7 separate regions of the Homo sapiens genome follow, and regions 2, 3, 4, 5, 6 and 7 are each linked to region 1. Evidence: promoter capture Hi-C in 16 types of primary human blood cells and fetal thymus (Javierre and others, 2016). All regions are on one chromosome and are shown on one strand. The core of a region is centred on a gene start or on the middle of the fragment in contact, and the rest is flanking DNA. Distances in the headings are between cores, read along the strand shown. Region 1 holds the start of LDHA (lactate dehydrogenase A). Region 2 overlaps PTPN5 (protein tyrosine phosphatase non-receptor type 5). Region 3 overlaps PTPN5 (protein tyrosine phosphatase non-receptor type 5). Region 4 overlaps IGSF22 (immunoglobulin superfamily member 22). Region 5 has its middle 29 kb from the start of TPH1. Region 6 overlaps SERGEF (secretion regulating guanine nucleotide exchange factor). Region 7 overlaps TPH1 (tryptophan hydroxylase 1).

Region 1 (3,362 bases), core at 414-2,913:
CATGCGCATTACAGCGCGCAGGGCGAAGCCGATTAGTCTAGCGGCCTCCGGCCGTTGGGAAGCGGGCATCGGGCCAGAAGGCAGAAGGCTGAGAAGCCCCGCCCGTAAGCAGAGGCAATCTGGAGCTATGCAGCTCAGTGGGTGAGAGGGAGGGAGCTGGGATTCAGACTTCAGACCTAATGAATGCCCCGAAGCAGACGCCAGCAACGTGAAGCCTAGCTGGCAGCCTCCCAGGTCTGGCGCGCAGCCAGCGCCAGACTTTAAATCGCAATACTAGAAACCAGGGCCTGTTAACCAACCGGGAGGGAGGCGCACGGTGTGGCTTCGGCCGTGATCCTTGTTGCAAAGGCCTGTCAGGCCCAGTATGAAGAAATAGTTTCAGTACAGGGAGTGTAGAAATAGCTGCAGAAGGCCTGAGGCCTGCAGCCCTAGAGTTAATAGCTACTTGGTGGAACCCTCGAATTCTTTCCACCTTGTTAATCCAACCCTGCACTGCATTCGCTGGAGGAAATATCACAGGCTGCATCCCCAAAGTATCACGTCTAGTTTTGACACCACTCCAAAGGGCAAAAATCCGAGAGGACCTCTAGGCAGGCAGTCAGCCCAGAGTCACCAAGCTGGAGCCGGGTCTCTCCTTACAAATCACTGCTATTTCTAGACAGCCTTGTAAGGTTTCTAGCCTGGCAGGGGGAAGGGAGTTCCTGCGGACACCTGCTAGCTTCACTGAACGGCCCCGGGATCCAATGCTACCTTTAATGTAGGGGCGGAGGTGGGAGGGCATGGGATGAGGGAAGGGTGCGTCTAGAGGCGAGAGACATGCAAAAACGAGTTCTACACCTCACCTCTGCCTCCTACTCACTGGGAACTTAGAGATCCCTGACTGTCTCCTAGCTTTCGGTCTCCCTATTTGTTAAAAGGAGGAGTTGGTACCGGCGGATCCTACTCAACTGACCGTCTGAGGTGCGGAAGGGCTGGGATGCTGCCTGCTTCATCTTTGCATGCGCCGTGCCTAGCGCAGCCCGAGATACACCAGTAGCTTCTTAATAAATGCGCAAAGGGCTCCCTATAATCTGCAGGCAGCAGCTGCCCTCACGGAGCCCACCTCTCGAGCGTCCCAAGAGAAAAATGCAAGCCGCGTGGTACTCAGCCGCTTTCCGTCTTTCAAGAACCCGCCCCGGACAAGCTGAGGCTTTTTTGGCTCTATGGGCTCCGAGAACTGGACCTCGAGTTTTGCACCGCCCGCCGATTTCGAGCCCAGAGGTATCCCCCACCCTTAAGGCCTATCATATCCTTGTTCCGCATCCACCCGGGCTTTCGACCCCTGCTTGGGTGCGGCCACCTCCTCGGTTCCCCAGCGTGGCCAGAAGCCATGGTTCCCGCTTAGAGCAAAAGCAGAGCGCGGCGAGCTCCGAACACATGCGTTGTGTGGGCCGCCGCCCAGACGTCTCTGGGCTGTGCTTCTGGAAAGCGGCTCCTACACCTCCCGGGAGCAGGAATCCCTTCGCGAGCAGCGGAGGCCAGCAGAACCAGAGGCAGTTGGCTCTACCCGCCCATCCCTCTGGCGCCGTGCGCGCAGGGCCCTACCGTACCGGGAATGCACGTCGGGCGGTCGTCGGGGGCGCGTGGCAATGAGATCCGGAATCGGCGGCAGCGGCTGCAGCACTCTGAGCTGGGCGCGGGAGGGGCCTTAAGTGGAACAGCTATGCTGACGTCAGCGGGGGGGGCCGGCGGACGTGCGGGAACCCACGTGTGAGTCGGGCTGGGGGTGGATGCCGAGCCAGGCGGGGCACTGGAGAGGCCCGGGTGGCGCGCGCAGCCAGACAACCGACCGGCAGACTGCTCCACGTGCGCTGGGAGTCTAAGTAAGGTGCTGCCCTCCAACCACAGAAGCCGGGGTCGGAGCCATGAGCCTGAGTCAGGACGACCTTCAGTTTCCTCATCCATGAAACCTGGGGAGGTTACTCTCAGGAAGGCTTGGATCTGTTTCTTCTTCATCCCTGTTTCTCAGTGTCCAGAACAGCTTCTGGCACGTAATAGGCACTCCACAAATATTTGTTGAACGAAAGGAAGAAAATGCCTAGCAGTCAGTCAGTCTGTTCTTACCTAAGTCGAGTGACCTCCAAAACTCGACGCTGCTTTTCCCTCTGCTGCTAAGCCTACCAGCTCCCACTCACAGTGAAGCCTTGGCCTCTCAGGCCTTGCAGGGTGACTCAGTTCAAATGTACATTTTATTCTGCACTTTCTACTGCCCACCCCACTGGCATCTCATCTCGAGTCTCAACCATACCCAAGAACTGTCAGTGGCTTGTTTTTTTGGTTTTGGTTTTTTGTTTGTTTATTTGTTTTTTGGTATTTTTCGAGACAGGGTCTCACTCTGTCACCCAGGCTGGAGGGCAGTGGCGTGATCATGGCTTCCTGCAGCCTCGACCTTCTGGCTCAAGCGATCCTCCCACCTCGGCTCCCCGAAGTGACTGGGACTACAAGCGCGCCCACTTGCCCTGCGATTTTTTTTTTAATTATTAATTTTTTTTTTTTTGAAACGGAGTCGCTCTGTCGCCCAGGCTGGAGTGCAGTGGGCTGATCTCGGCTCACTGCAACCTCCGCCTCCCGGGTTCAAGCGAATCTCCTGCCTCAGCCTCCTGAGAAGATGGGATTACAGCCAGGCGCCACCACGCCCGGCTAATTTTTGTAATTTTTAGTAGAGACGGGGTTTCACCATGTTGGTCAGGCTGATCTCAAACTCCTGGCCTCAAGTGATCTGGCCGCCTCGGCCTCACAAAGAGCTGGGATTACAGGCGTGAGCCACCGTGCCCAGCTCAATTTTTTGTTTTCTTATCATACTTACCTCTGGGCCTGTATTCTTGCTGATTCCATTGCCTAGCCCGCCCTCCTCCATCTCTTCTTTAATTTGTACCAATACTTCCCCACTGTGGGGTATATTATGAAATATATTTGGTAAGCCCTTGAGTATGCCAAAATTTCCTGAATTTTCTGATAGGAATGTCTTTTGTTATTTATAAAGAGCCTTTTTCCCTGACTTAATGTTAATGAATGAGGAGTCTTAGATAGCCTCAGGAAGGAGCCAGTCATGGGAAAGACCAAATGATTAGGGAATTAGAGGGCTGGAACTTTCAGCCCAAAGGGGTGGATGGCTTTACTTACTCCCTGAACCTACAGCAGCAGCCCAGTGCAGCTTTGAGATAGATCCATAACTGAGTTTCTTGGTTTTGACGGAAAACTCTAACCTCAGCTCCAAAATAGCACAAGGGGCCAGGTGCAGTGACTCATGCCTGTAATCCCAGCACCAATGTGGTTGAGGTGGGAGGACTGCTTGAGGCCAGGAGTTCGAGACTAGCCTGGGC
Region 2 (3,274 bases), core at 22-2,521, 370 kb before region 1:
TTCTCTCCAGGGCACTGTGGCTACCATGATTCAGCACCAGCAAAATGCATCAGAATGCATTTTCAGTGTGCAAGGGAGAGGATCTGATTGACCCAGGCTGGTTTGTGTGTTCAGCCTTGGATCAGTCATCAGCTACTGCCAAGGGTCAGAGACATGAAAGGCAGACAAGGCCACTGGAGCCCACGCTGCATTTCAGGCCATTCCCAGGGTAGGGGACCCCCTGTGAGTCAAGTGGTTGCCCTCAAGATATGTCTACTCTCAAGATGCTTCATGGGGTCTAGCTGATCTCCAGCAACATTTTTCCAGCTTGCCAGGTAAAGGAGAAAAACTAGACCCCCATACTCTCCTATAAGGTGCCCTAATAGGCTAGAAAGAGGGTTCTCTGATTTCAGGAAGGAAACATTTAGACTATACAAAACATGTATGTAACTACTTTTTCTAGCTATTCTGGAGAAGAGTTCTGCATACCACTTTTCACTGCCTGGGGCAGAGGGGACTTGCATATCTTGGAGAGCTGGACACAGGATTGTGGGTTACTCAGAGCCCTCTTCTTGTCCACCCATGGTTCAAAACTACTGGAACTAGGAGACAGAATGGCACAACAGCGAGAGCATGAGCCTGGAGTCCTAGGTCATAATTTCAAACTCATCTCTATTCTATTGAGCTGTGTGACCTTGGGCAAGTTACTTAACCTCTCTGAGCCTGTTTAATGATCCCTCATTCATGAGGTCATGGTGAGGATTTAATGTGATAAAGTTTGCAAAGTGCTTGCGTATAGTAAATCCTCCTACTGTAGAGGTGATGATGATGGTGATGATGATGATGATGGTTGTGATGATACTGCTGCCACTGATTCCACAAGGAAGACACCTGCAAAATTCTGCTCCTGCCTCTGCAGCTTGACCCCTCAACAGGCTGGTATTTTCCTCAGGTCCCTTTGATGGGGTGGGGTTATTCAAAGGGATACAGAATACAGGAGAGGGAGCCTTCTTATCTTTGCTCAGGGTTTTTGTCTTGATCCTGGCTCAACAGCATATTCTTACCTTTTCCATCCTGCTGCAGGAGTGAGAGAGAGAACCACGCTGCTGATGACTCCGAGGGAGGGGCCCTGGACATGTGCTGCAGTGAGAGGCTACCGGGTGAGTCTTCTCAGCACCCAGCTCCTCCCAGACCTCAGAATGGAGAGACAATGCCCCGGCTGAAGCTGGGGCTGGAGTAAAGCCTAGCTAGCTGTGAACTTGCGCAAGAATATCCATGCAGCTGCTCCATAGCTCTTCGTTTAAATGGGGACTTGTTTTTCTAATCCCTGATGCCTTCTGACCTGTTATCACTTGGAGCTGCTCTAGGCTCACATGGAGGGAAGAGCAGGCAATTGAAGGTGTGCTAGGAAGTGAAAAGAAGGACGAAGAGCTGAGGAGTACAGGGCTCCTAGGGAATGACCACTGACCATTCAGGGCTGGGCTGACTTCAAGAGGTAAGGGTAGGAAGCAAAACCTGAAGGCAGCATGAGCCAAGGATGGGGTGGGGGATGTGGAGAACTACCTGACCTCCCTGTTGAGAAGCCCGGCTTGAGGGTGAAACTGTGCTGCTTGAGTCCAGTTGACCACAGTTGCAGGGAGCCAAGCCATTGCAGCCACCGTGGAGATATTACCAAGGCACTCTTGCCCACAGGGTGGCAGCTCGTCCCAGTTGTAGCCCCATGACCCACGCCATGATAAACAGCCTCAGAAGGAAGAAAAAGAAGGGGTGGGGGGAGAGTTTTACATTTTTTTATAAGTTTTTATTGTTCTTTTCCTTCTTATAACAAAAGGTTAACTGTCAAAATATTAGAAAATAAATACAAATAAAAAAAGAAAAATCGCCATAATCCTGTAACATAGCATATATTTTCATATCTCTCCTTCTGAACATTTTGTTAGAAGACAAGTCTTTTGGGCCAGGTGCGGTGGCTCATGCCTGTAATCCCAGCACTTTGGGAGGCCAAGGCGGGCAGATCACGAGGTCAGGAGATCGAGACCATCCTGGCTAACATGGTGAAACTCCGTCTCTACTAAAAATACAAAAAATTAGCCAGGCGTGGTGGCGGGCGCCTGTAGTCCCAGCTACTTGGGAGGCTGAGGCAGGAGGATGGCGTGAACCCAGAGGGCAGAGCTTGCAGTGAGCCGAGATCGCGCCACTGCACTCCAGCCTGGGCGACAGAGTAAGACTCCGTCTCCAAAAAAACAAAACAAAACAAAACAAAACAAAGACAAGTCTTTTGAACTCTAACGTTGAAATTCCAAACCTGTAGCTTTTCAGAGACCTCATGATTGGCAAGGAACCTTAGAATGGAGTCTTCACGTGATACTCTTTAAGATAGACATTGGAAACAACCAGGTATGAGTCTAAAGCGATGACTCTTCAAAATAAGTGGTATTTTATTCACACCACACTCAGTGCCCCAGCTCCTGAGGAAGCCCTTTGATGCAGTTCATACCTTAACCAGTAGGGGGTGCCATTGCTCAAAACACTTGGGACAGCCTGTTGAGACGGTCTAAGATGGGACCGTCTGTCTAGAAGAGAATTCTCTGAAAAGATGTGAGAACTTCCTGAATATCTGAATGGCTGTCTTGCGGAAGGGGCAGCAGATCTATTCTGTGTATCTTAGGATGACGTAAGCCCAAGGCATTGAAATTAAAAACAGGCCTTTGGCCCATAGACGCAGAACTCTCTGACTCTAAAAGTGGTCCAGTCATAGAACTCAATAATTCCAGAGGAAGAAATGCGTGTTCCGTCACAGGAGGCATTCAAGTACTAGATAGATAGACAATGGAGAGGAAATTTCCACAATGGATGGGAGGTCCAGATGACATCAGAAGTCCCCTTCAACTATTAAACAGTTCTGTGATTCAGATATGAGTCATAGAATTCGGAGATGACTCTACAATCAGGGATGGCACCACTGACTAGAAGAAATCTGCAGAAAATAGGACAGGATGAATAGGAGTCCAGAGAGTAGCACGGTGTGGAGGAAGAAAGAGCATGGGATTTGGCGTTTGAGTCCGCCTGTTCTGCTTCAGGCTGTGTGTTTATGCACAAGTCACTTAACCTTGCTGGAGCTCCAGTCCCTCATCTGTGAGCAGAAACAATAGCAATATGAATATTTATCCTCACAAGTGTCCTGGGGGAATAAATAAATGTAACCACTCAGTCATTCACTCAAGTACTTATTGAGCACCTACTAGGTCTCAGGTACTAGGTGCTAGATATATAGAGGTAAATAAAACAGACATAG
Region 3 (3,348 bases), core at 785-3,284, 340 kb before region 1:
GCGGGGGTCCTGGCCTCTCCTGGACAATATGTCCTTGACTCACCAGCAGCCTCATCCCAGGGCTGTTGGGCCCGGGACTGCAGTGGGGAGGGTCTGGAGCCATCCTCTCGGGCCCAAGCCCCGCTTCTGTGCTTCAGGCAGGTGTCCCCTCTCTGAGCTTCCTGGGGACCACAGGGTAGAACTTCCTCCAACGGTGATGGAGGAGAGTCCAGGGTAAGGCCATGTTGGGGTAGCTTTGGATGGAACTTTTAGAACTGGAGCCCCAAATCCCCACTAAGTTAACATCTCCACTGCAGGAGGCAGGAGATAGGGAGTCAGGCCAATGCCTCAGGGCTGAGATTCACGCTTCTTTGTCAGGGGGTCTTGTCACACTCCCACTCCTCTTCCTCAACCCCACCCTGTTCCCAGCTGATCTCTCCCTCCCTCATTTTCCCAGCCCTGGAGACCCCAGCTCATGCCCGTCCCTCTGCCCCTGAGGCTCACACTCCCTTTCCTGGTCCTTCCAGGAGGGGTTCCAATGTCTCCCTGACCCTGGACATGTGCACTCCGGGCTGCAACGAGGAGGGCTTTGGCTATCTCATGTCCCCACGTGAGGAGTCCGCCCGCGAGTACCTGCTCAGCGCCTCCCGTGTCCTCCAAGCAGAAGAGCTTCATGAAAAGGCCCTGGACCCTTTCCTGCTGCAGGCGGAATTCTTTGTGAGTTCCCTTGAGCCGGTCGCCCCACTGTGTGCAGACCCATGTCAATCATCCACCTGCCCAGGTGGTGGAGCGTGGTGCCTGGAACTCAGCATCTGCAGTAGATTAGTATCACTTTATTATCAGCTCTCCCACCATCTTGGGCAAGCTGCTTTCCCTCTGAGCTTCAGTTTCCTCATCTGGAAAATGGGGATGAAAATAATAGAATTGTTGCAAAGATTAAAGAGACTTATAACATGTGCAGAGCACCCAGCCAGGTGATGGAGGTACAGTGACAATGCTAAGTCTTTATTGCCCAGTGCTGTGCTCTGAAAGCCACAGAGAACCTTCACTTCTAACTCTTCTGTTTTCCCACTTTCCTCCTGCCGAGCATTGTTCTTCTGCCTTTGAAATCTCTCTAGTGGCCTCCCCTCGTTACCACCCCTGGGGCCCTAGCTTAGGTCCTAATCACCTCCACCCTGGCTTCTGCAGCAGCCTCCAGCTGCCTCCTATTGGACTTTGAGGGGCTCAATAAATGGCACCCCTGTTTACCTGCCTGAGTGCTCAGCCAGTTAAGAGCTAAGGCATAGGAGATTACAATATCACCTTTGTTGTCAATAAAATACAGGTTGGAAATGTGGCTTAGCAGGGTACAGCAAGAGTGAGCCTCCCGATACTGAGACCCAGAATTACATGCACTTTCCACCCTCCACAGGGGTGCCGGCACATCTCGGACCTTGCCGCATGGGGGCACCCCTATAATTCTTTCCTGGCAGGAGGGCCCTGAGAGGAGGAGGAAGGAAGGGGCTGAGGCTCCAAAGCTCCATTCCTCAACCAAATTCACCAAACAGGTAACTCCTCACTTCTGTGAGCAGGAAAAGGCAAGAGGCCAAGAGTATCTGGGGTGAGTTCCTCCTGGTAGAAGCCACAGGGGTACAGAAGCAGGTGCCTCCTCCCTCATAGCTCCCTTCCTTTGGCCTCCGCCCTGGGCCTGTCTGGACCGGGTAGCTCTCCCCTGTGAGAAGACCTCCATCATCATCTGATCTGCTGCTCCAAGTTCTCCAGAACTTGGTACCACCTGCATACACCATCAGCACCCCTTACCTCGTGTGGCCCCAGCCTCCTTTTCCAGCCTTATGCCCCATGCCCCACCCCTGCAGGGACTGTCCACTTCAAACTGGGCCAGTCTCGTCCGTGCCTTTCTCCTCCTGTGCCTTTGCTCACATCATCACTCACTCCAGATGCCTCTAGAAAGCCTTCTTTAACCACCCCAGCCTCAGCTCCTTCTCTGAGCTCCCACTGCCATCATCTCCCCTTCGAGAAAGAATCACATCCTCTACCTCATTTCCTGTCCGGTGGGTCTTTGTTGAGGAAGGAGCGTGGCCTGAGCACCCACTCTGGGGGCAGTTTTGCACGTGTTGTATTTTTATTTTGATTTTCACAATCCTGGAAAGTGTGATGATCCTCATTTTACAAAGCCCATACTTAGTGTGTCCAAAAACAATGAACAGTGTGAAGTTAGGTGCAGTCAGGGGCTAAGCTGGTGGACAGACTGGAAGGAAATGCAGAGGCAAGAGGCATGGAGAGTCATCCCGGAAGATGTCAGGAGGAGACAGACTCATAGGTGAACTTTTTTTTTTTTTTTTTTTTTGAGACAGGGTTTCACTCTTGTTGCCCAGGCTGGAGTGCAGTGGTGCGATCTTGTCTCACTGCAACCTCCGCCTTCCAGTTCCAAGCGATTCTCCTGCCTCAGCCTCCCTAGTGGCTGGGATTACAGGGGCCCGCCACCAGGTCCAGCTAATTTTTGTATTCTTATTAGAGATGGGGTTTCAACATGTTGGCCAGGGTGGTCTCAAACTCCTGACTTTGTGATCCGCCTGCCTCGGCCTCCCAAAGTGCTGAGATTACAGGCGTGAGCCACCGCGCCCGGGCAGAGGTGAACTTTAAAGGGTGGGAACAACTTGGAGAGATGGGGGTAGGGGAGACCAGCGCCCTCAGGAGGCAGAACGTCACAAGCTCAGACTCAGAGGCAGGACTGAGAACAGCAGATTAACAACAGGGGAGAAACAGGCCTAACTGGAAGTAAAGAGAGGCCAGATTCAAGAAGCCCTCACATGCCAGGAGAGAAGTTCAGACTCAGAGCTCTGGACACAGACAGTGGTTGGGAGGTGCAGATATTCCTGGGATCTCAGAAAGAGGCTTCTCTCCTTCTGGAGAATCAGGGAAGGCTTCTCAGAGGAGGCGGGACATGAGATGAGGATGGGGTGTGTGTTACCACAGAGCAAGCAGCACGAACCTAGGTCCCGAGATAGGGATGCCCAGGGAGGAATGCTGCCCAGGGAGCATGGAAGAAGGCAGCCATTGGCCAGGTCACTTTTTGTCTTTTTCTTCATTCATCAGCTATTTATTGACTGTCTATATATGGCAGGCTGGCTCTCCATAAACAATAGTCATTATCATATTTATTACACACTCAGCATGTGCCAGGCACTGTTCTGAATGCGTCGTGAGCACTAACTCTCTTAATAGTAAATGTTTGTTGAATGAATGCGTGCACTCAAGCCAGCCCCTGGGCTAGGAGTTGGGGGCACAGCAGCCCCTGGATTCAAACATCTGTGAGGGCCCATAGCTGCTCACACCCCGTGTCCTCCTTCCACAGGAAATCCCCATGAA
Region 4 (3,372 bases), core at 156-2,655, 330 kb before region 1:
AAGTTCCAAACTCAAGTGATTTACAGCAGTGATTCTCTGCTGTGGCCGCACATCAGAGTCACCTTAGTGCAGGGGGTGTGAGGAGGGCAAAAATATGGCAGTACCTGAGTCTCACCCCAGACCATTCAATCAGGTATTTCTTATAAAGTTCTCCATGGATTATATATGTGCAGCCAAAGCTGTAGACCACTGACCAACAGGGCCCAGGCAGGGAACATAAATGTGGGGAAAAGACTGGGGTAAACTAGAGACTGTATATCCCATCTAAAGGGGCAGCCACTATTCACCTCCCACTGACTGTTGCCATATGGGAATACAGGTTCAGTGTTGAGAATCCAGAAATCTGAATTTTTATGTGAAATCTTTCTCTTTCAGATGTAGGGCTACTTTTTTGTTTAAACATTGTGGAGGTCACATAAAAGACATCTGCAGGCCAGGTGTCCACTGCACTCTGCCTGTTTGAGACCTCTTGTTAGTATTTAAAAGCAGGCCATGAGAGCTTCTTAACACACTTTTCCCCCTCTGTCAGATTAGTGGGATAATAAAGGCACCTACTTCAGTGGGATGCTGTGAAGATGGAATAAAATCATCTCTGATATGTGCCTAGCACAGTTCCTGACTCAAGGAAAGTGTTCCATGATTCAGAGCAATTGTTGTGAATTGATAACTCACCAGCCAAGAAGATTGTCTGTAGTTTTATACTGCAAAAACAGTTTTTTTTGTTTTCCAAATATAAAATTATATTTCCACATTGAAGATGTGCTTTCAGATAAGGATATTCCCATATATAGCTCCACTGGAGTGGGACTGTGTCGTGTCCTGTCCCTCACTCAAGAATCACTACTCCCAAGGCAATGAATGCTGAACCCACAGAATGGCAGGGAGAAAATCTAGAGCAGAGCTCAGCCAAGCTGCAGACCTCCCAGGCAGAAGCAGGCCTAGCCCCTCTTAATGCTACTGGGGGACCAGGACTTCCAGGAGAGAAGCCTAAGAGACCAAGAAAATTCCAAAAGAGAAGCCTCCTTTAAAAAAAAAAATTAGGACTCAGGGCTGTGGCCCCATAAAGGTAATGGACCACTGAGGTGTGGGAAAGGAGTTCGCCTCCCCTAGTGGTTGAAACTTGCCATAACACAATGGCCCATCGACTCACCCTGCTTTCTCCCCATGTAGCTGGTCCTGCTCCCACTTCCCTAAATGCTCTTTGTTCCCATGCTCCACCGTCCTCTCAAGAAAGCTCTGTCCTCCCATCGCGAGCTGGGCTTCTACCTGGAGCCCATTCTGACCTCTCGCCTGCCCCCACAGAGGAGGTCGTGAGGAGGAAGTCCTCGAGCATAGTGGAGTTCTTCAGCTTAGTGACCCGGAGCTCAAACATCCCTGCGGGCGACAGCGTCCCTGAGTTCGTGGAGAAGCCTCAACCGGTCACCGCGCCCGAGGGTGTGTTGCTGCCTGTGGCTCACCGGGCTCCAGTGCTTCGCTTTCTAATCGAGTGCCCCCACCCTCCGTCCTACCCCAACGACCTCCAATGCTAAACCCTGGCAGAGCCTGGCCGAGGGTTCCTCCCCTGCCCGGGGCCAGGCCCAGGTGTCTGGGAGGAGGCAGAGAGCCGGCAGAGGGTGGCAGAGGCTCTAGCCTGGTGGCTAAGAGGCGAAAACGCGTCCTGTGCTCATCGCAGGGGACAAAGCCGTGTTCCGAGCCCGGGTGCAGGGGAACGCCAAACCCCACATCTCCTGGAAGAGGGAGAGCGGCATCCCCATCAAGGAGTCCGCCAAGATATTCTACGACAGCATTAACAAGGAACACGTGCTGAAGGTGCGGGGGCCAAGCCCAAGTCCAGTTACCGAGAAGGCCAGAGGCAGGGACCCCCAGGGCGGGCCGCCAGTCTTCTCACCGATGAGAGCCTTAACGGCGGCCCGAGAGCCGGGCAGTGGGAAAAGCAGCTGTCATTGCCCGAGAGGCGCGGCAGGATAAGAGAGGCCGAGTCAGGAACCGGGATATTGCCGGAATGAGCAGAGGACCCAAAGTACCCCCGGGGCAGAGCAGAGCAGGGGCAGAGCCAGAACGTGGCGGGGCGGGACGCAATGGAAGCGAAGGGGCGTGTCCACAAGGCGAGTGAGCCAAAAGGAACGCGGGACCAAGACGGTGGGCGTAGCCATGGAGGGCGGGACCATTGTGGGTGGCGAGGTGCCGGAGGGACTCGCCGTAGAGTAGGGGTGAGGGTCAGGGGCTCCGGGCTCTTCAGCTGAACCCTCCCCAAGGACCGACCATCCTTAGGTCTAACCAGCTTCTGGATCACTTTCTGAGAGCTGGGCCTACCCAGCTGTAACCCCTGGCTCCAGGCCCTTCGAGGAAAGGGAGGGATGGATCACGGGGAGATCTAGGCCTATAATTACTTATGATCCTATAATCACTCGGGTCCTGACCCGATTTCCCGTTGTGAAAGGCAAAGAGCCTCCTTTTTTCCCCACAGACAGAAGTAGTCTGCTCCCAAAGACCCATCATCACTGGACCCTAAGCCCCCCACAGCACACACGAGCTGCCCCAGTCCCCCTGATGGCCACCTCTTACACAAGCTCATTCATTCAGCAGACACTTTCTGAGAGCCTTGGCTTCTGAGAGCCTAGCAGGCTTCTGCAAGCACCATGCAGACGGGCATCAAGTCAGCCTTACTCACCACTGTTCCTTCTGGGGCTCAGCCCAGTGTCTGGTACAGAGGAGTAAATTGTATTAAATGAAGTCTCAGCCAGATGATGCCAGAAACTGCAGATAGAGTTACAAGGCAGGGGAAGCCCTGCCTTCTGGGAGCTCACAGCCAAGGGGGAGAGTCCGATGGAGAAGCAGACAGTTTTATTGCTATGGAATCAGGCTACAAACATGCATACTCACACTGACTGCTAGCTGGTACCTCCAAATCATACAGGCTGCTCAATCCTCCACACATATACCCAACAGTCAGTTCCTATTGTCCCCTAAAAAAAAAAAAGGCCTCCTACCTTATCTGACAGAAAGTCTCCCTGTGGTTCCTTTTCCTTCCCCCACTAATGGCCGGACTTTGATCCAGCTGGAGCCACTGACTTCGGATGACTCTGACAACTATAAGTGCATTGCAAGCAATGACCATGCAGATGCCATCTATACCGTATCTCTGCTGGTAACAGAAGGTGAGTTGGCCCCTTCCTCTTGGCCTTTCTTCTTAGGGACCAGACTCCCCCTGTCTGAACCTGTCCCTCTGTCTATCCTCAGGTCAAGAGAAAATGGACTTCAAAAAGATGCTGAAGAAGAGGTGAGGCTGGCAGGTCCTTCTGCCCAAGATATTGTCTCCTCATCCAGGCCAAAGCCTCTCAAAGGCCTCTCAACAAGGCCCTGAGTTCCAAG
Region 5 (3,280 bases), core at 78-2,577, 320 kb after region 1:
ATATGTTTTCTTTTTGTTGCTGGTTTGAGATCCAAGAACCATTATTAAAAGTTATATATTTATAGTGAAATAGTATGATGTCTTGGATTTGCTTCAAATTAGTCTGGGGCAGAGGGAAAGAAGTAAGTTAATGGAGTAGATGAAACAAGACTGGCTGCGAATTGGAGTTGCTGAAGCTGGGTGACAATTACATGGGGTTCCATTATACTTTTTTTTTTTTTTTTTTCAGAGACAAGGTCTTGCTCTGTTGCCCAGGCCAGAGTGTAGTGGCACACTCATAGGTTACTGCAGCCTCAAACTCCTGGGCTAAAGCCATCCTTCTATCTCAGTCTCCCAAATAGCTGGGACTATGGGTGCATGCCACCATGCCCAGCTAATTTTTATTTATTTATTCATTTTTATTTTATTTTGAGACAGAGTCTCACTCTGTTGCCCAGGCTGGATTGCAGTGGTGTGATCCTGGCTCACTGCAACCTCCGCCTCCCAGGTTCAAGCGATTCTCCTGCTTCAGCCTCCTGAGTAGCTGGGATTACAGGCACGCACCACCACACCTGGCTAATTTTGTGGGTTTTCTTTCTTTCTTTCTTTCTTTCTTTTTTTTTTTTTTTTTTGAGACGGAGTCTTGCTCTGTCACCTAGGCTGGAGTGCAGTGGCGCAATCGCGGCTCACTGCAACCTTCACCTCCCGGGTTCAAGCGATTCTCCTGCCTCAGCTTCCTGAGTAGCTGGGATTACAAGCGCATGCCACCATGCCCGGCTGATTTCTGTATTTTTAGTAGAAACGTGGTTTCACCATGTTGGTCAAACTTGTCTCAAACTCCTGACCTTGTGATCCGCCCACCTCTGCCTCCCAAAGTGCTAGGATTACAGGCGTGAGCCACCATGCCTAGCCTAGCTAATTTTTATATTTTTAGTAGACAGGGTTTTACCATATTGGCCAGGCTGGTCTGAAACTCCTGACCTCAGGTGATCCGCCTGTCTTGGCCTCTCAGTGGGCTGGGATTACAGGCGTGAGCCACCACACCTGGCCTATTTATTGATTTTGTAGAGATGGGTTCTCACTGTTTCCCAGGCTTGTCTTGAACTCCTGGCTGCAAACAATCCTGCCTCAGCCTCCCAAAGTGCTGGGCTTGCAGGTCACCACACCTGGCCTTCCTGTTAAAGGTTTATAAAAGCAAATAAATGATACACAACTTAAGCTTTAATTTGATTATGAATGATGCTTATTCCTTTTATGTCATTGGGCTAGTCAAACTTACAAGAGCCTGGGCCAATGTAGTCTTGAGTCTTGTGGGCCAGTCCAGCAACCAAAAAAAAAACCACAGGTGAGACTGGAAGCAGGAGGGAACCTTGTGGTGGTGCTGCTAGCCCTCCACTCACCTCTCATACTATTTGTTCATCAACCTGACTGCTTTGTATTTCTATATAGAATGCAAAATCTGCATCGCTAAGCTTTTATGATGTATCTTAGATAATTTGCATGAGGTCACATTTGCTTAAATCCAATTTTATACAACCCAAGGAACATCTGTAATATAAAAGCCAGAAAACCTCCATAAGTTCACATTTCACAGCCAAGGATTTCGTAATATCAGGCTACTCCTTCTATCATTATGATTGTGCCCATGTGATTGCCCTTTCTGAACAACTGTGTTTTCCCTGGACGTTTGCAAGATTCTATAGTGTAGTAACATCATGGAGTAGGGCATTCTCATTTTATCCTAATTGTTCATGCCTCAGGGCTCTGGCAAGGATCACAATTCTGGGAGAGGGTCATGCCACACTGAAATTAGACCTGGAGGGGAGAGGATCTGTACCCAAGGAGGTGGCATCAGGGTCTGCTCTGAGTCCCTGTGTCACCTGGCTTCCTTATTTCCGTTTCTTCTTTCTTAGGACTTCAGCTTGTCTGTGGTCTCTCAAGACCACACCAGCCTGTCTTTTTTGGGGGGTTGTGTTCTGCCAGCTTAATCACTTTATTCTCTTGGTATTTCTTTAAATTTGTGAGAGAGAAATTCTTGCGCAGTTACTAGTCTTTTTGTATCAAGCAGTGTGAGTCACCTGTGATTTGGCTACTTTGGGCTAAGTGTGTGACCCAACACAATCAACTAAAGTTGAAATTAAAATGAGTGTGATACGAAATTTACCTCAGGACACAGAAGGATGTGGTAGACACCAGACTTAATTTCCTGTTAGAGATGACCGCCATTTATTGAGGATTTACTATGTGTCAGATGCTCTGTAAAGGTCTTTAGGTATATTATTTAATTTTGCAATAATCCCATAAGGTAATTGTCACCATTTTATAGATGGAGAAATGAAGATTCAGAGTGGTAAAATAACTTGCTGAAAGTTATTTAGGTAGTAAGTAGCTGACCCAGGGCTTGGATCTGGACCTGCCTAGCCTAATGAATATTCTTTTAGCCACTATACTGTACTTGCATACTGTGGGGAGGCATGGACTGGAGCATGAAGGTCTTGATAGATCACATGGAAGAGACAGCTAGGCTATCTGCACATCCACGTTCCTTTCTCCAAAATTGCCGCTGGACTGCCCACATTCTTCCCCCGGTTACAGCGTATGGTTTAATAAGGGAATTACTCCTAACCCAAGCTGGACAACTCAGGTTGGCTCAAGGACACAGGACTCTAGACCACGTAACTTACAAGGCTGAGGGCACTATTTGGGAGGAGGCAGCCAGTCATATTTATCATCCACTATGTACCAGGTATTCTAAGGACTAGGAAGACAGCAGTAAACAAAACAGACAAAATCTGTGTAATAGAAATACTGTGGACAAAGCAGAAAAAATCTTGACCTAGTGGGCCTGGAATTCCAGAGTCATGTGTAAGAAGAACAGAGGAAGAAGCTGGTCTGCATAGAGGTCATGCATCCTGTAGCAGACTGGATCATTATTCTCGATTCTTCACCTCTGTGTATCGTGCCCTTGCCATGGCTTCTCCGTGAATGGAGTGTACTTCCCTGTCCCTTGACTTTGAGCTTGACCAAGTCACTTGCTTTGGCCAATAGAATGTTAATGGAGCTGATGTAAGCAGAGTACTTTTAGCAGTTTGCTTGTGCTCCTGTCATTTACCGTGAGAAGAGCATGCCCTGGGTAGCCATTGATCCATGAAGGATGAGAAACATGGAGCAAACCTAAACCCAGTCTGCAGCCGGTGCTGGGTGTGGTGGCTTACACTTGTAATTCCAGCTACTTGGGAAGCTGAGGTAGGAGGATTGCCTGAAGCCCAGGAGTTTGAGGCTGCAGTGAGCTATAGTCGTG
Region 6 (3,282 bases), core at 209-2,708, 410 kb after region 1:
AGGAAACAGACCTAGAATGTGAAGTGATGTGCCCAGTGTCAAACAGTGATCGGGTAACAGATGGAACTTGAACTGGAGACTTCTGAACCTTAGTCTGAAGCCCCTTAATGATACTGTTTGACTTTCTGTCAGTTTTTTGGAATATACTAGACTGCCCTAGGGCAAGCAATACTATCAAGTTTTATTGGGAAGCTACAAAATGCAGTGAAAGCAGAAGACCTGGCTTCTAGTCCCTATTTGACTCCTTATTAGCCATGTGATCCTGAAAAGTAATTTAATATCTTCCAGCCTTGATTAATTTATCTTCTAGAACAGTGCTAATAGAAATATAATATGAGCCATAGTTCAAAAAGTAAAAAGAAACAGGTGGGATTAATTTTAATAATATATCTACTTAACCCAGTATATCCAAAATATTATTTCAACATGTAACCCATATCAAATTATAAGGAGCCACACTCTTTTTTGCACTAAGTCTTTGCAGTCCATTGTGTGAGAGAGTAGCATTTCACTTACAATGTATCTCAGTTTGGGCTAGCCACATTTCAAGTGTTTAATAGCCACATGTAGGTGGTGAACTACTGTATTGGGTAGTACAGCTGTAGATCCTTAGATTATAAGGGTTGGAAAAGCTGAGGAGTCACAAATTGACAAGCCATAGGCTAAATTATTGCCCATGGCCTCATTTTGTATGGCTTTCATTTACAAAATATTTTTGAATGTGAATGCCTTTTAGATAGGCACGTACTCTCTGGCTTGCCACAGTCACCTGCCAGTCATTCTTGTTACCAGTGTCATCAGTCATATTGTCTGCCCTTCTAGACCAACAGCCTTCCCTTCCAATTTTCAGCTGGTGAAACTAAGTCTTAGAGAGGAAGTGATTTGTCCAAGGTCAATAGCTAGTTAGCAGATCCAGGAATAGAAGCCAGAGTCACTTGACTCTGAATTTGTTCTCTTTCTGTTAAATCACAATGTCAGTCAGTCACTTTCCTGCTTATATCACAGGATTATTGTGAGGTTAAAACAAACTGAAGTGCTATCCAGATGCGATTCTATAGCATTATATTTTCTGCTGGACAGGGCATGCAGTGAAATAATCTTATGTTTAAAAAATTTAAGCTTAAATAATGTATCTTTTAACCTGTTATTTTGAAAATTTAAAGCATTTTTTTCATACAAAAGGTATAGGCATATATTTTAAAAACGTAGAAAATAGAGAAATGTGTCTCATACACATGGTAGATGTTGCATAAATATTTGTTGAATGAAAAAGTGAAGAGAAAACCACACATTTTTATTTCTTAAGCTACTAAGAACATTTGGCCTTGTTTTTTATGTATAGAATTTTTGAAAATCTTGTAATAAGTTATTATGGTGTACACAAATTTTGTAACCTGCTTGGCTCCACTCAACCTTGTAGTCTAAGTATAAAACAACTTCTTTTAACCACTTATTTTTTAGACTTCTGTTATTTTCCATCATTTTGGACTAATGTTCCCTCACCTCTTTTGTTACCCTTCTGTTTGTTTAAGATGCAGGAGAGGTGTATGTTTGGGGAAGCAACAAGCATGGGCAACTGGCTAATGAGGCTGCTTTCCTTCCTGTGCCCCAGAAAATAGAAGCACATTGTTTCCAGAATGAAAAGGTCACTGCCATCTGGAGTGGATGGACACACCTGGTTGCTCAGACAGGTGAGACAGTAGCAGAGAACTTACGGTTGGTAAGAGCAGCTGGGGGACAGCTGTCTAAGCAGCCATGAGTGCTTGGGGTTAAGCCTTTTTACTGATGAAAGCTTAAAGATCAGAGATGGGGATACTGGGATCTAGTTCTGCCACCAGCCAGATATGTGGCTTTTCCTCTCAGAGTCACAGGTTTGTACCCAAAAGGGCAAGCCTGGGTTAAGTTAACTCCTTCCGGTCCTAAGAGCCCATGAGGTTTTGAGAAGGGATCCATTGCAGCAAGCGTCATCCAGAAATTTGTCCAGCTTGTTGGGAAGTTCTTACTTTGTCATAGCTATTTGCATGTCTAAGTCTAAATTAAAAGCATCAGAAAATGTTAAGTGAAAGATAAATATCTAAAGATTGAGGTAGGAACATTATTTTGATTCATAGCTGGCATGGAATTCTGATTTAAACTTTTGTTGACCTAATAAACTATGTGTATTGGTTCAGACATCTCATATATTCCCTCAGATGTTACCACATCATGCCATACAGCTTTTGGCATCTTCATCTTTTCTTGAATCTTCGTTTATTTCTCATCTTTCCCTTAGGGCAGTTCTACTTTCCTGGCCTTCATATTGTTAACTTTGTCCTCAGATTTTGTTTTTTCATGGCCTCTATTCATCCCTGCCTTCCTGCCTGTTGATTTCACAGAGTTCCCCAGCCAATTTGAAATTCCCAAGATCTGTTATCATGTCAAAGTATTCTGAGCTTCAGGGGTTCTCAGGAGTTCCCTTGCCTACTCCTGTCCTGCTTGCTAGCTACACACACATCTCTAGACTCCCAAATATCTAGTGACTCTTATTTCAGAAGTTTCTGGCTTTTGCAGGTTTTCAGGTCAGCTTCAGCTATCCTTGGTAAGTCACATATACTACGCATTTCTATACACAAATGTAGACTTATGAGCAGTCATACCTATGATGCTTTTAATTGGTCTTTTAAAACATTTCATGATCATTTTGCAATAGAGGCCTGTATAACAAAGGTGTATAATAAACTTTCCATATTACCGCTTTAGAGGATGCTCTAAGCAAAGTGTGTCATTCATTAGGAGGAAGGTCGTCACTTTCCTCAAAGAGATTCAGATTGCTTGAAGATTGGGCTTATCTACAGAACCTTTTCCTAAAGAGACTCACTGAGCATAGTAGCTGGGTTTTGTATGTTTGTAATTGTTGATATCTCTCTTTTGTTTCAGATAATGAGCTCTGTGAAGGAAGCCACCAGATTAGTCTTGCTCACTTCTGTATCTCCAATGCCTATCAAAGAATTTACTCATTTTCCTGCATCAAACTCTTTATAGTTAAAAGAGACTACACATACACAAATGCATACAAGGCAGGGTAGATAGCTAGGATTTCTGACCTCTTTCCTGGGACTTAGATGTTCATGAACAGAAAGCTTCTTTGTCTCTTTGGATTCTGGTGTCCAACCAAATAGGTTAATGTTTATTAGGCACCTATTGAGCAATGTGTTAAGCCTTGGGGAAATGGAGGAGAAAAGACATAGGCCATATCTTCCCACTAGAATATGTAGATAGGTGTAAGCCTAAGAATATAGAGAT
Region 7 (3,272 bases), core at 160-2,659, 380 kb after region 1:
ATGCCCCGCTAATTTTTGTTTTTTTAGTAGAGATGGGGTTTCGCCATGTTGGCCAGGCTGGTCTCGAACTTCTGACCGCAGGTGATCCATCCGCCTCGGCCTCCCAAAGTGCTGGGATTACAAGCATGAGCCACCATGCCCAGCCGGTTAATAATTCTTAATCAGTAAATCATTATTCAAAGACATAGTTAATATCTTCATGACTTCTTAAGGATGCTCAAAAGCTGGTCTTCAGAATACCTACATTTCTTTATCTACATATTCTGTCATTTGGAGTTATACAAGTAGTAATGACACACCAAAATGTAAATAATTATTGTTAGCTTTTAAGTTGGCTTCCAAATTCAAAAAAGAAAAAAATCCTGAATTCTCTAAAGGAACATATGATAGAGTCCATATGTTAATTCATAGGAAGTGTTTAAGGTACTATGGTCTATTTTGGTCTAATCTTTGTTTTACTATGTAATATATATTTATGATTTACAAGTTTGTTATTCAGTGGGATAATAAATGAACACAAAATTTATGTTCTCAACCAATGTTTACTTTTTTTCAAACATACGTTAAAAATTTATTTAAAGTTACATTAGCAATTTTATTAGTTTAGGAAATCCATTGTATCTTTATACTTCTTAAAAAGCCTATGGATATGAGATAGAAGCCAAACATATCTGGAACCTGGTAACCACTTTTCAGAGTTCTTCGTAAAGTCTGTGTTATGTTCCTGTCAACGAAAAGAGTCAAACACAGTAAAGTATTTGAAGAGCCAAATATGAGTGACCATGGCCCATGACACAGCCCTTAGGAGACCCTGAGAACATGTGCCCAAGGTAGTCAGGGTACAGCTTGGTTTTATACATTTTAGGGAGACATGAGACTTCAGTCAAATACATTTATAAGATACACTGGCTCAGTCCAGAAAGCTGGGATAATTCAAAGTGTTGGGTGGGAGGTTTCCAGATTATAGGTAGTTTTAAAATTTTTCTAATTGGCAATTCATAGAAAGGAATGTCTGGGTTGCTGTATGAGTTTGTGGAGACCAGAGTTTTATCATGCAGATGAAGCCTCCAGATGGCAGGCTTCCAAGAGAACAGACTGTCAATTTTTCTTATCAGACTTAAGGTCTGTGTTGATGTTAATGCTGGAGAGGTATAAGGAGGCATGTGCGTGACCCCACTTCCAGTCATGGCCTGAATCAGTGTTTCGGGTTACATTTTAGAGTGCCCTGGCCTAGAAGAAAGTCCATTCAGATGGTTGGGGGGGGCCTTAGAATTTTATTTTTGGTTTACACTCCTCATCTGTAAAATGAACTAAGTCTACTACACTAGATTATTGGAGAAGTTATGCTGCAAGAGGACTTTGTAAAAAAAAAAAACTCATTTTCCACATGTAAAGAATTACTAATACAATCACTCTCTTAACAGATATTCCCCCTTAGCTTCTAGATGATTTTATCTTCCACAAGAGGGTATTAATTTTTGCTTCTAGTAGGCAGTATATAATGGCATGGTAAAGTCTGAGTCCAATTAGGGATTGAGCCAAAGAGAAGTTGAGCTTCAGTCTTTGTGAGGGCTGGTCTATTTCCAGTTCACCTTGACTTTTAGGGTGTAGCCCTTTAGGGATCTCAAGAGAAAACTATGAGTGTGTACCAGGGCTTCTCCTTGGGGGCTCTGGACTACTACTTTTGTCCCCTCCTTCATGTCCACCATTCCCTCCTCCCATCCCTACCCTATGAGATTGCTAAAGGTACTGCTCAGCTTCTTAGTTGTTGATTTCAGCCCAGTTTCTTAGCCTCCAAGACATTGCTTAGTAATTAGCAAGTGCTTCAAGCAGAAAAGTAGTGCCAAATATAATCTCTCAGCTTCCAGATCTTGGCCCTTCAAGTTCTTCCTGCTTTGATAGCTCTCCAATAACTTGAAATATATTTTAAAAATATTTTGTCAAATTTTCTAGTTGTTTTTTTATGAGAGAATAGGTATGCAGCTAGCTAATCTTCCTTTATCAAAAGTAGAAAACTGACCTTGAAGTAAATAACTACTTTGAGCCTCAGTTTTCTCATCTATAAAACAATGATCCTGGCCAGGCAAGGTGGCTCACACCTGTAGCCCTAGCTACTTGGGAGGCTGAGGCAGGAGGATCACTTGAGCCCAGGAGGTAGAGGCTGCAGTGAGCCATTATCATGCCACCTGCACTCCAGCCTGGGCAACAGAGGGAGACCCTGCCTCAAAAAAACAAAATAAGATAAAATAATAATCCTAACAGCACTTATCATACTAGTATTATTGGGATGATCACAAAAAATAATCCAACGGGAAAAAATTTCCTAACCTTCATGGTACAGAGATGCAATCTGTATGTTCTCAAATACTTTATACTTTCCTCTTTTGGGGAGATAAGCCATCTGAAAGTGAAGCCATTAGATGGTTTAAATCTAGTCCCATTCAAGAACTGCAATTCAGCCAGGCTGCTCATGGGAAGAACTAGGCAGTGGCGAGTACATAGTTGAAATAGTTGCAACATCTCAACACTTCCAATAAATTGTATTAAGGGATATGACATGATAATATAACTGTAGGTTAGTTAAAATATTGATGCTTGTACATTCAAGGGGTGGAGTCAGAAAACAACTATATTCTCCCAGACCTTCTCTCTATTAAAACTGGCTCTGTAGGTAGTTCTTCCTTGCCCTTCTGGATGAAATCTCAGGTTGCTGCCTGACTTTCTGCTTGCTCACAGGTAATAAAAAGTCCTTAGCTCCTAATTTCCATTTCTCTCTCTCTCTCTCTCTCTCTCTCTCTCTCTCTCTCTCTCTCTCACACACACACACACACACACACACTCTCTCTCTCTCTCTCTCTTTCTCATTTCAATATTTAAAAAGGCTAGTCCTGTGGAAAAACTTTGATAAAACAAACTTTAAGGTTGAAGCTTTTTTCCTCCTCCAGAACTGAGAAAGGAGTGGGTGTGCTTAGTTTCTTAATTTCCTTGTCTCTTGTTACTCAGTGGATGCCTGGGACTCCTCCAGGGTTGGGGAGATGTAGAGGGGAGGAGAGGTAAGGAGGAGAAAAGTTCTTTTTGGTCTGATACTGTTGTGAATTGTCATCAGTGCTTTCTGTACTTTGTAAATATTACATGCTGACATTTTCTTGTGGGCATTTTGGAAGACCTTCCCACCTTCTTATTTCTTGGGATTTCTTGATGTAGGTAAATGTATCTCTCTGGGCTGTTAAATTCATTTCCCTCACCCTCAAGGAATCTAGTGATCGACTGTC

The links. The method cuts DNA at HindIII sites, captures the fragments that hold promoters and counts their contacts. A CHiCAGO score of 5 or more calls a contact.
Region 2: a fragment that was not itself captured here is called in contact with the fragment with the promoter of LDHA in region 1 in 1 of 17 cell types (naive CD4 T cells); the score reaches 6.3 in naive CD4 T cells.
Region 3: a contact is called between a fragment that was not itself captured here and the fragment with the promoter of LDHA in region 1, in 1 of 17 cell types (activated CD4 T cells). The highest score is 5.6, in activated CD4 T cells.
Region 4: a contact is called between a fragment that was not itself captured here and the fragment with the promoter of LDHA in region 1, in 10 of 17 cell types (non-activated CD4 T cells, activated CD4 T cells, total CD8 T cells and 7 more). The highest score is 10.2, in non-activated CD4 T cells.
Region 5: a contact is called between a fragment that was not itself captured here and the fragment with the promoter of LDHA in region 1, in 1 of 17 cell types (naive B cells). The highest score is 6.0, in naive B cells.
Region 6: a fragment that was not itself captured here is called in contact with the fragment with the promoter of LDHA in region 1 in 1 of 17 cell types (naive B cells); the score reaches 5.5 in naive B cells.
Region 7: a contact is called between a fragment that was not itself captured here and the fragment with the promoter of LDHA in region 1, in 1 of 17 cell types (non-activated CD4 T cells). The highest score is 5.0, in non-activated CD4 T cells.

What each region holds. Positions count from the first base shown.
Region 1 is chr11:18,392,864-18,396,225 of GRCh38, reverse strand. It overlaps LDHA (lactate dehydrogenase A), which reads right to left and starts at 1,663. Exons shown (of 8, transcript NM_005566.4): 1 at 1,590-1,663. RefSeq lists enhancers at 1-303, 1,568-1,657, 1,038-1,703, 1,968-2,057, 1,704-2,368 and a silencer at 758-807. The HindIII fragment of the contact is 13,104 bases long and covers 1-3,362 here.
Region 2 is chr11:18,763,672-18,766,945 of GRCh38, reverse strand. PTPN5 (protein tyrosine phosphatase non-receptor type 5) reads left to right here. Exons shown (of 15, transcript NM_006906.2): 3 at 1,063-1,139. Among named protein-coding and RNA genes, the nearest start is that of PTPN5, 26 kb to the left of the region's middle. The HindIII fragment of the contact is 5,910 bases long and covers 1-3,274 here.
Region 3 is chr11:18,737,951-18,741,298 of GRCh38, reverse strand. It overlaps PTPN5 (protein tyrosine phosphatase non-receptor type 5), which reads left to right. Exons shown (of 15, transcript NM_006906.2): 8 at 507-696; 9 at 3,335-3,348. IGSF22-AS1 (IGSF22 antisense RNA 1) reads right to left here. Exons shown (of 3, transcript NR_186353.1): 3 at 1-875. Among named protein-coding and RNA genes, the nearest start is that of IGSF22, 13 kb to the right of the region's middle. The HindIII fragment of the contact is 8,092 bases long and covers 1-3,348 here.
Region 4 is chr11:18,719,972-18,723,343 of GRCh38, reverse strand. It overlaps IGSF22 (immunoglobulin superfamily member 22), which reads left to right. Exons shown (of 23, transcript NM_173588.4): 3 at 1,303-1,434; 4 at 1,673-1,809; 5 at 3,059-3,158; 6 at 3,241-3,280. The region is part of intron 2 of IGSF22-AS1 (IGSF22 antisense RNA 1); the gene reads right to left. Among named protein-coding and RNA genes, the nearest start is that of IGSF22, 4.5 kb to the left of the region's middle. RefSeq lists an enhancer at 1,524-1,713. The HindIII fragment of the contact is 4,044 bases long and covers 1-3,372 here.
Region 5 is chr11:18,073,948-18,077,227 of GRCh38, reverse strand. No RefSeq gene overlaps it. Among named protein-coding and RNA genes, the nearest start is that of TPH1, 29 kb to the right of the region's middle. The HindIII fragment of the contact is 253 bases long and covers 1,201-1,453 here.
Region 6 is chr11:17,987,006-17,990,287 of GRCh38, reverse strand. SERGEF (secretion regulating guanine nucleotide exchange factor) reads left to right here. Exons shown (of 11, transcript NM_012139.4): 8 at 1,533-1,691. Among named protein-coding and RNA genes, the nearest start is that of SERGEF, 24 kb to the left of the region's middle. The HindIII fragment of the contact is 673 bases long and covers 1,122-1,794 here.
Region 7 is chr11:18,014,818-18,018,089 of GRCh38, reverse strand. It overlaps TPH1 (tryptophan hydroxylase 1), which reads left to right. Exons shown (of 11, transcript NM_004179.3): 11 at 1-535. Among named protein-coding and RNA genes, the nearest start is that of SERGEF, 3.4 kb to the right of the region's middle. The HindIII fragment of the contact is 3,043 bases long and covers 1-2,930 here.